3 separate regions of the Homo sapiens genome follow, and all the other regions are linked to region 1. Evidence: promoter capture Hi-C in human tissues and cell types (Jung and others, 2019). All regions are on one chromosome and are shown on one strand. The core of a region is centred on a gene start or on the middle of the fragment in contact, and the rest is flanking DNA. Distances in the headings are between cores, read along the strand shown.

Region 1 (3,060 bases), core at 399-2,898:
AATTTATTCTGAGTAAACAATCAGATAATTGCAAAATGTACAACCACACAATCAATACATGCACACAAACACGCAAGAATGTTCACTGAAGCACTGGCTGAAAGAAAAAAGTTTGGCAGCAACCTATAAACCCAACTATTGAGATTTAAGTAAACTATTGTATCCTCCTATGACAAAATATAGCCATAAAAGGAAGATTCAAAGTATTTCATGGTACAGGAAAGTCATTCACATTATATGTTAAAATCAAAAGCACATAAAAGAGTATTATACTATTATTCCATTGTTGTTCATTAAATAGTTGTAAATACATAGGAAAATGACCAAAATAATATAAATACACTAAATTTTTACAGTACAGCTGGTGTGATATTCTGGGTTATTTTTATTTTCATCTTAGTTCTCTTTAATTTTCTATATGTTTTTTACTAAATTGGAATCTCAGAGATTTTGAAGGCAAATGATCAGTGGTAAAATAATGCTACTACGTATAAATTCATTCTACAAATTGGGCTAACCAGATGGAAAATGGGTCACCACAGAAAGTATTATAATTCATAAGAATAATTATAATATCATACAAATTTATTAGACAATCAAATACCATAAAATATTTGTGACTGGAAATTGAATAAAACTTAAAAGACATTAATAAAGGTCTGTTCCTTAAAGTGCTCAGACATTTAAAAGATACTTTCAAGACAAAAACATCTACTACAAGGAGGATTACTAGTCTCTTCAGGCCGTAGTGAAAATGGAGTACATCATCATCAAATAACAACGTCAGCTAAAAATACAGAGCCTGTTTATTGTGTACGGACCAACTGTGCAAGCAATTTGTACAATACTTTGGTGTTAACTCCAATTTGGATACGAATTACTCATTTTCACAAACTTAAATTGGATTACACTTTATCTTTCCCAATTACTGAAAACATTTACTTAACACATACACATTTGGAACTTAACTTCGATGAAGTAAAAATACGAAAAGTTAATCTCTACTTCCAAAAATGTCGATGCACGCTGCAATTGTATTTCATTTCTTTCGCAAAATTTTGCACAGGATATTGTTGTTAATTGTTAGTAGAGGAATTCAGAAATGACTAGATCCTTTAGTTGAGGCAAGCAGGTATGTTCCCCGTGTTCTAGCCCTGCACTTAAGAGTCAATGAAAGAAAGTTTAAAAAAGAAAGCATTGTCTCCTCTGGAGACCCCGTCTGCCACGACCACATACCTTGATTCTTGCTTTCTCTATAAATTCTAGAGGGGCTTTCCCAAACTCAAATCCAACTCCAATCCAAGGAATCCAGCCCTTGATGCACGGGGGTCTACGCAAATTCTTCCGCTGAAGGAGTAAGAACAGAGCAAGGCAACCCAGGATTATAATCACTGTTGGGGAAATTAGTTCCATGTTTTTGTCCAGCACCTTCCAGAAGCAGAAAAGTGTGAAACAGTCCTGCCGTCCCTTGCTTCTTTTCTGTGGGCTACGGAACCTGTCGGGACTCCCAACCTTTCTGCTGCAACTTTTGCAGCTCTCCTTCGTAACTGTAGCTTCCTTCCTCTGTCCCAGTTTTCAGGTGATTTTTCCATTGTCGCTCCCTCCCACCTCCACTTCTCTTTGAATCTCAGCCAGCGCGGAAAAAATGCAAGGAGGGGCAGGGCCGGGCTAGGACTGACGGGCGAGAACCAGCCGCGTTGCCATGGAGGCCGGGGGCGGAGCCGCAGAGGGACCCGCGGCCGGCCAATCAGAGACGTAGCGGAGCCCGGCGGACTACATTGCCCAGTAACCTCCTGGGCTCCGCTGTGTTTTTCTATTCTGGGGTGTAAGGGGCAGCTGGACCACTCCAGCTGGGACTGCTAGGAAGGTTGCGGGTCCACCCGGCCGAGCCGAACGAGGGAAATGGTCCTCACCCGGCCACTCGCCGGTTGAAAAGGGGCCGCCCTGGCAGGGAAGCGGCCGCCGCGGCGCGGTGCAGCGCAGCGGCGAGAAGGAGTGCGTTATCGTCTTGCGCTACTGCTGAATGTCCGTCCCGGAGGAGGAGGAGAGGCTTTTGCCGCTGACCCAGAGATGGCCCCGAGCGAGCAAATTCCTACTGTCCGGCTGCGCGGCTACCGTGGCCGAGCTAGGTACCCGGCTGCCCACGCCTGGGCCTCCCGGGCCAGTGGCACGCGCCGCGCTGGGGGAGGGTGCGCGGGCGGCTTCGCGCCCGGCAGTGCGCATCGGAGAGGTCGCCCCTTCCATGCCCGCCTGGCAGAGGTGGCGGTGGAGGCCAGGCCCGCGGTGGGAGGAGGAGGGATTGAGGTCTCCACGGCCTTTTCCTTCTAATCTCTTCTAATGCTTCCCTTAGGCATGTGCTGTGGTGCTTGAATGTTGTACTTTAAGAAGCTTCGCGAGCTGTCATTCCTCTGTAGGAATCATTTTCCTTTTCATGAGGATGACCTTTTTAAAAACGTAATCTGTTTTCCATCCTTACTGAGATCATCTCTGTGGTTTATAGTCTTACACAGCCACACTGTCATTATCTTGTGGGTCCAAGTTGTGGACCTACCTTGTGGGACTTCCGTTATTAACCTGCCACTCACAGAGCATCGACTACTTGACCTCTTTGAGTGTAATTCATCTATACTGTTTACCTTGCAGGATTCTGAGAAGTCAATAATATATGATTGCTAAACCCAAGGCAGGACACCCATTAGTTGCGACATTTTTATAATTCCTACAATACCAGGGACTGTGGATATATATTTGAAAAGACCCAGTTCTGACCTTCTTACAGGCTGCTGGGGAGACAGAGAAAGACAATTATAATGTGCTACTTGTTATAATGAAGATATTATTAGGTGTCATAAAAGCATAGAAGAGCAGTTACATCTGCCTACATGAGTAAGAAAAAACTTTAAGAGGCCATCTAGAGTGGAATGATGATGCCCTTGAATGAGCAAGTAGCGTTTATTCCAAGGATTTTGTGAGTAGTATACTCATGTGTTTCCTGTGAAGCCTTAACTGTGTATTTTAAGATTACCCTTACATTTTCTTGCCTGTTACAAAAAAATAAAA
Region 2 (2,962 bases), core at 182-2,681, 400 kb after region 1:
ACATGGGAGAAAATTTTCGCAACCTACTCATCTGACAAAGGGCTAATATCCAGAATCTACAATGAACTCAAACAAATTTACAAGAAAAAAACAAACAACCCCATCAAAAAGTGGGCGAAGGACATGAACAGACACTTCTCAAAAGAAGACATTTATGCAGCCAAAAAATACATGAAAAAATGCTCATCATCACTGGCCATCAGAGAAATGAAAATCAAAACCACTATGAGATACCATCTCACACCAGTTAGAATGGCAATCATTAAAAAGTCAGGAAACAACAGGTGCTGGAGAGGATGTGGAGAAATAGGAACACTTTTACACTGTTGGTGGGACTGTAAACTAGTTCAACCATTGTGGAAGTCAGTGTGGCGATTCCTCAGGGATCTAGAACTAGAAATACCATTTGACCCAGCCATCCCATTACTGGGTATATACCCAAAGGACTATAAATCATGCTGCTATAAAGACACATGCACACGTATGTTTATTGCGGCATTATTCACAATAGCAAAGACTTGGAACCAACCCAAATGTCCAACAATGATAGACTGGATTAAGAAAATGTGGCACATATACACCATGGAATACTATGCAGCCATAAAAAATGATGAGTTCATGTCCTTTGTAGGGACATGGATGAAATTGGAAACCATCATTCTCAGTAAACTATCGCAAGAATAAAAAACCGAACACCGCATATTCTCACTCATAGGTGGGAATTGAACAATGAGATCACATGGTCACAGGAAGGGGAATATCACACTCTGGGGACTGTGGTGGGGTGGGGGGAGGGGGGAGGGGTAGCATTGGGAGATATACCTAATGCTAGATGACGAGTTAGTGGGTGCAGCACACCAGCATGGCACATGTATACATATGTAACTAACCTGCGCAATGTCCACATGTACCCTAAAACTTAAAGTATAATAAAAAAAAAAAAAAACAATCTGTAGCAATTAACTTGTGCTAGTAACATTGTTTTGCATTGACCTACTCATTTGTTTCACACCATGGACTGAATAACATATCTTTGCCTCATTGATTTGAGATGCTACCTTTATTAAATACTAAATTCCTATGTGACTTTGGGTCAATTCATGGATTTTGTATTCATTTCATTCGTCTGTGTCTGCTCAAGAACAACTTAATACTCTGTTTATTGTGACTTCATCATATATCTTTATATCTAATATACTAATTATTCCTCATTATTCTTCCTTTTCAGAATTTTTCTATTTCTGCTTATTAATTTATTCATATAAACTTTAGAATAAGCTTGACTTTCCCCCTCCCCACACACCACAAAAACCTATTGATATATTTATTGAGATTATGTTAAGTGTATAGGTAAATTTGGGGATAATTAATGTCTTTTGAGTTCCTCTAAAGAAGAATATGGCTTGATTTTCTACATGATCAAATAAAATAAAATAATTAAGCAGTGCTGATCATAATTCTGAAAGATGCAATTTTGAACATGATAATCTGTAATTTCAATCATAATTTGGGTTGAAGTACCGAAGGATCAAAATCTCTAGTCTAAAATCTTGAAAATCACAATAAATCCCAAATGTTGAAACCCTGAAACCTGAATTCTGGGGAAGGTATGAATGAGTTTTCAGCTGTAAGCAGGGTTGTTGCATCATGTTAGTTGCATTATGTCAGGCAGAACTATTATTACCTTGTTTTTGTCTTTATTTGCATTTGGAGGGCAATTCAGATGACTGGATGGGCCATGTGATAAGGCAATGATGAAAGCTTCCTTTTAAAAATGCATTATTTCGGCTGGGTGCGGGGGCTCACGCCTGTAATCCCAGCACTCTGGGAGGCCGAGGTGGGTGATCACCTGAGGTCAGGAGTTTGAGACCAGCCTGACCAACATGGTGAAACCCCATCTCTACTAAAAATACAAAAATTAGCTAGGTGTGGTGGCATGGGCCTGTAATCCCAGCTACTCGGGAGGCTGAGGCAGGAGAATCACTTGAACCCAGGAGGCAGAGGTTGCAGTGAGCTGAGATTGCACAACTGCACTCCAGCCTGGGCGACAGAGCGAGACTCATCTCAAAAAAATAATGCATTATTTGTCTGCACTGGCATTCCTTTCAGCTGGTGAAATTCCAGGAGCTTTTAATGAATTAAAGTCGCATTTCTCTGAAGAAGCCAGCAAAGTTACTGACTAGTTTAAAAATAATTATGTGCCTGGTAGGATAGGAAGACACTTATACAACAGTGTTGGGGTTCGATCAACAGTATAGTTCCCACCAAATTTGTAGTCTGTATATAAGTGCACGCGGAATGGACTTTGCATGCGCAAAGCAACCTAGAAGTGTGGTACAGAAGATGGGAAAACAATAGGGAATGCTTATGTTGTTGTATATTGAATCACAGAATGATTTCAAAAAGAGCAAGCACCATATAGAAAATGAAAGTGAACATATTCTCCAAGGAGAATCATCTGGATGCAAGACTTCAAAATAGAGCTAATGATAGTGAAAGCTGGCCAGCTCTTATGAACAGCCTATGTGCAATTATGCATAGTCTATCCCTCTAATTGCTTTTTCATATGGTAAATTTTCTTTTGAGTTTGTTTTTCTTCTTTTTTCTTTTTAAATTTTTGATTCCCAACTATTTTAAATTGACAGCATTATTTTTCACGATTTGCTATGCTATGTATTTCATCTTTACCTCATTTCCAATATTGGAGGTATAAATTGTGTAAAGACTTTTAGAGAGTTCTAATTCATTCTATGCATTTTTTATAAACTTGACTCCATGAAAGTACATTTGACTTCATGTGTAAGCCTCGTGTGTATATGTAAAAATATTGAAACTTTCTTAATAAATGAAGAAATGTCCTTTTAGTGCATCTGCTTTTGTAAAAGAGAAAACTGCTCAAGGGTTCGGCTCTTTGGGTGACTGCATATGCGGTGGCGAGTGATCACAGGTTTCTATTGTTCTT
Region 3 (3,192 bases), core at 247-2,746, 440 kb before region 1:
AATAGGAAAAAAGAATGCAAAGGAAATAAGAACAAAAATGAACAAAAATATTATCTTCAGAGTGATAAAAGAAGATATTGTATTCATAAAACAAGAGCAGGTGGTGCCAGGCACAGTGGCTCATGCCTGTAATCCCAGCATTCTGGGAGGCCAAGACAGGAAGATCACTTGAACATAGGAGTTCGAGACCAGCCTGGACAACATGGAGAAACCCCATCTCTGCAAAAAATACAAAAATTAGCCAACGATGTTGGCATATGCTTGTAGTCCCAGGTACTTGGGAGGCTGAGACAGAAGTATAACCTGAGCCTGGGAAGGTTGAGGTTGCAGTAAGCCGTGATCATGCCACTGGACTCCAGGCTGGGTGAAAGAGTGAGACCCTGTCTCAAAAAAGAAAGAAAGAAAAAAAGAAAAAGCAGGAGGTAATAGAAAAGAAACATTCAGGAATAAAAAAATCCTCTCAGAAATTAAATACATGTCAACAGAAAGAAAAATAAATAAAAGTGTTGAAAGATAATGTTTCAGAAATTTCCCAGAAAAATAGAGCCAAAAAGTCAAAGAGATAGAAAATTGTAGAGAAAGAAAACAGGAATTTGAGAACAATTTTGGAAGACTTAAGGTCCAACTAGTAGATATCCTTCGAATAATAGGAGGGAACAGTGAGATAGATATAGGGGAGGAAAGTTTCAAATAAGCTGTTTGGTATGGTTTCCTGTGTCCCTACCTAAATATCATCTTGAGTCATAATAAACAGCACATGGGAAGGGCAGGGCGAAGTGGAGATAATTGAATCATAGGGGTGGTTTCTCCCATACTGTTCTCATGGTAGCACATAAGTCTCAAAAGATCTGATGGTTTTATAAATGGGAGTTTCCCTGCACAAGTTCTCTTTTGCGTTCCGCTGTGTAAGACGTGCCTTTGCTTCTCCTTTGGCTTTCACCATGATTGTGGGGCCTTCCCAGCCATGTTGAATGGTGAGTCCATTAAACCTCTTTCCTTCATAAATTACCCAGTTGGGTATGTCTTTGTTTGCAGCACGCGAATGAACTAATACACTCTCTTCAAGAAAAATGTCCACAATGGAAGGATATGAATTTCTAGGTTGAAAGGACTTATAAGAAATCAAATACATGAAACTCAGAGCAGTTGAGACAAAGCAGCCCTAAAAGCTTCCAGGAGAAAATACAGTTTACGTAAAAGGGTCAGAATTTAGAATGACATAGGCCTTCTAGAAGCTGGAAAGCAATGGAGTGATGCCATCAAAACCCTGAATAAATTTCCACAAACCAACTATTATGTGAGTGTGAAGGTGCAATAAAGACATTTTCAAACATGCAAGATCTTGTAAAACTTACCTTCCATGCTCCACTTCTTCAGTGAAGATACTGGGAAATATGCTCCATCATAACTAGGAAGTAAACTTTTTTTCTCATTCATGTGTTCAGTGGAGGTCAGGTATGATTACGGAGGCTCTGATGGGCTCCCCAAATCCCATTAGGAGTCCTTACCAGGTAAGACAAGTCCTAGGAATTTGGCCTTGGGGCAATTCTGCAAATAGGGCCAGCAATAGTGATGATGATGGGCTCAATTGGCTCCAACTCTTTCTAATGCATATCTTTAACTTCCTGCCACTTCTTTTTATATTTATTGACTCTAAGCTTGAATTGCCTCTTAGACGCAGCTGGAAAGAATCCTCCCATATCCACTGTAGCCTTCATCTCTCCATGTCATCTGTTGAGGCTGTGTCATTTCTAGCTTCTCTGTTAGACTTCTTTCTGCATTCCAGAAGTGACTTAGATTTTCTAGACAGCTGTTGATATGCTTTATTGGGTTGCAGGGCTATTATATATATTTCCTTTGATGACCTTCTGTGTAATTTCCAGGAGATTTCTGGGGATTGGATGGGCAATAAATATATGTCCTTCATCTACCATTTTAAACAGAAACTCATAGACAGCAGATTTTGCCCTTCCCCCGTATTTACACATACTGCGTTGCTGATTAACTAAGGCTCTCAAACTTCTATTATCTCTTCTCCAAACTCTTCTCTTTCTCCCTGTGCATTTACATTTTTAAAACAAACAGTGACTGGGCATGGTGGCTCATACCTGTAATCCCAGCATTTTCAGAGGCTGAGGCAGGAGGATCACTTGAGCCTAGGAGTTGTCTAGCCTGGGCAACATAGTAAGACCCCATCTTTACAAATAAAATACAAAAAATTAGCCCGGTGTGGTGGTGCACACCTGTAGTGCCAGCTACCTTGGAGGGGCTGAGGTGGGAGAATCCCTTGAACCTAGGAGGTTGAGGCTTCAGTGAGCTGTGATCACACCACTGGACTCCACCCTGGGTGACAGAGTGAGGCCCTGTCTCAGTAAATAAATAAATAAATAAATAAATAAATAAATAAATAAATAAATAAATAAATACAGGACTTTACATATGTATCTATTATGTTTTCTTTTTTTTTTCCATTCCAGTGGATTCCACTGTCTTATTAAAAGCCCAAATTATTCTTTTTTTTTTATTATACTTCAAGTTTTAGGGTACATGTGCACATTGTGCAAGTTAGTTACATATGTATACATGTACCATGCTGGTGCGCTACACCCACTAACTCGTCATCTAGCATTAGGTATATCTCCAAATGCTATCCCTCCCCCCTCCCCCCACCCCACCACAGTCCCCAGAGTGTGATGTTCCCCTTCCTATGTCCATGTGATCTCATTGTTCAATTCCCACCTATGAGTGAGAATATGCGGTGTTTGGTTTTTTGTTCTTGCGAGAGTTTACTGAGAATGATGATTTCCAATTTCATCCATGTCCCTACAAAGGACATGAACTCATCATTTTTTATGGCTACATAGTATTCCATGGTGTATATGTGCCACATTTTCTTAATCCAGTCTATCATTGTTGGACATTTGGGTTGGTTCCAAGTCTTTGCTATTGTGAATAGTGCCGCAATAAACATACATGTGCATGTGTCTTTATAGCAGCAAGATTTATAGTCCTTTGGGTATATACCCAGTAATGGGATGGCTGGGTCAAATGGTATTTCTAGTTCTAGATCCCTGAGGAATCGCCACACTGAATTCCGCAATGGTTGAACTAGTTTACAGTCCCACCAACAGTGTAAAAGTGTTCCTATTTCTCCACATCCTCTCCAGCACCTGTTGTTTCCTGACTTTTTAA

What was found. The method cuts DNA at HindIII sites, captures the fragments that hold promoters and counts their contacts. A contact is called where the count stands out against the background at its distance.
Region 2: a contact is called between a fragment that was not itself captured here and the fragment with the promoter of CYP39A1 in region 1, in 1 of the 25 tissues and cell types used here (mesendoderm cells).
Region 3: a fragment that was not itself captured here is called in contact with the fragment with the promoter of CYP39A1 in region 1 in 1 of the 25 tissues and cell types used here (dorsolateral prefrontal cortex).

What each region holds. Positions count from the first base shown.
Region 1 is chr6:46,651,170-46,654,229 of GRCh38, forward strand. CYP39A1 (cytochrome P450 family 39 subfamily A member 1) reads right to left here and starts at 1,649. Exons shown (of 12, transcript NM_016593.5): 1 at 1,237-1,649. The coding sequence starts at 1,413. SLC25A27 (solute carrier family 25 member 27) reads left to right here and starts at 1,806. Exons shown (of 9, transcript NM_004277.5): 1 at 1,806-2,129. The coding sequence starts at 2,024. RefSeq lists enhancers at 1,554-1,603, 1,834-1,963 and silencers at 1,624-1,713, 2,144-2,243. The HindIII fragment of the contact is 4,112 bases long and covers 1-3,060 here.
Region 2 is chr6:47,051,014-47,053,975 of GRCh38, forward strand. No RefSeq gene overlaps it. Among named protein-coding and RNA genes, the nearest start is that of ADGRF1, 10 kb to the left of the region's middle. The HindIII fragment of the contact is 5,628 bases long and covers 1-2,962 here.
Region 3 is chr6:46,209,717-46,212,908 of GRCh38, forward strand. No RefSeq gene overlaps it. Among named protein-coding and RNA genes, the nearest start is that of ENPP5, 40 kb to the left of the region's middle. The HindIII fragment of the contact is 3,629 bases long and covers 1-3,192 here.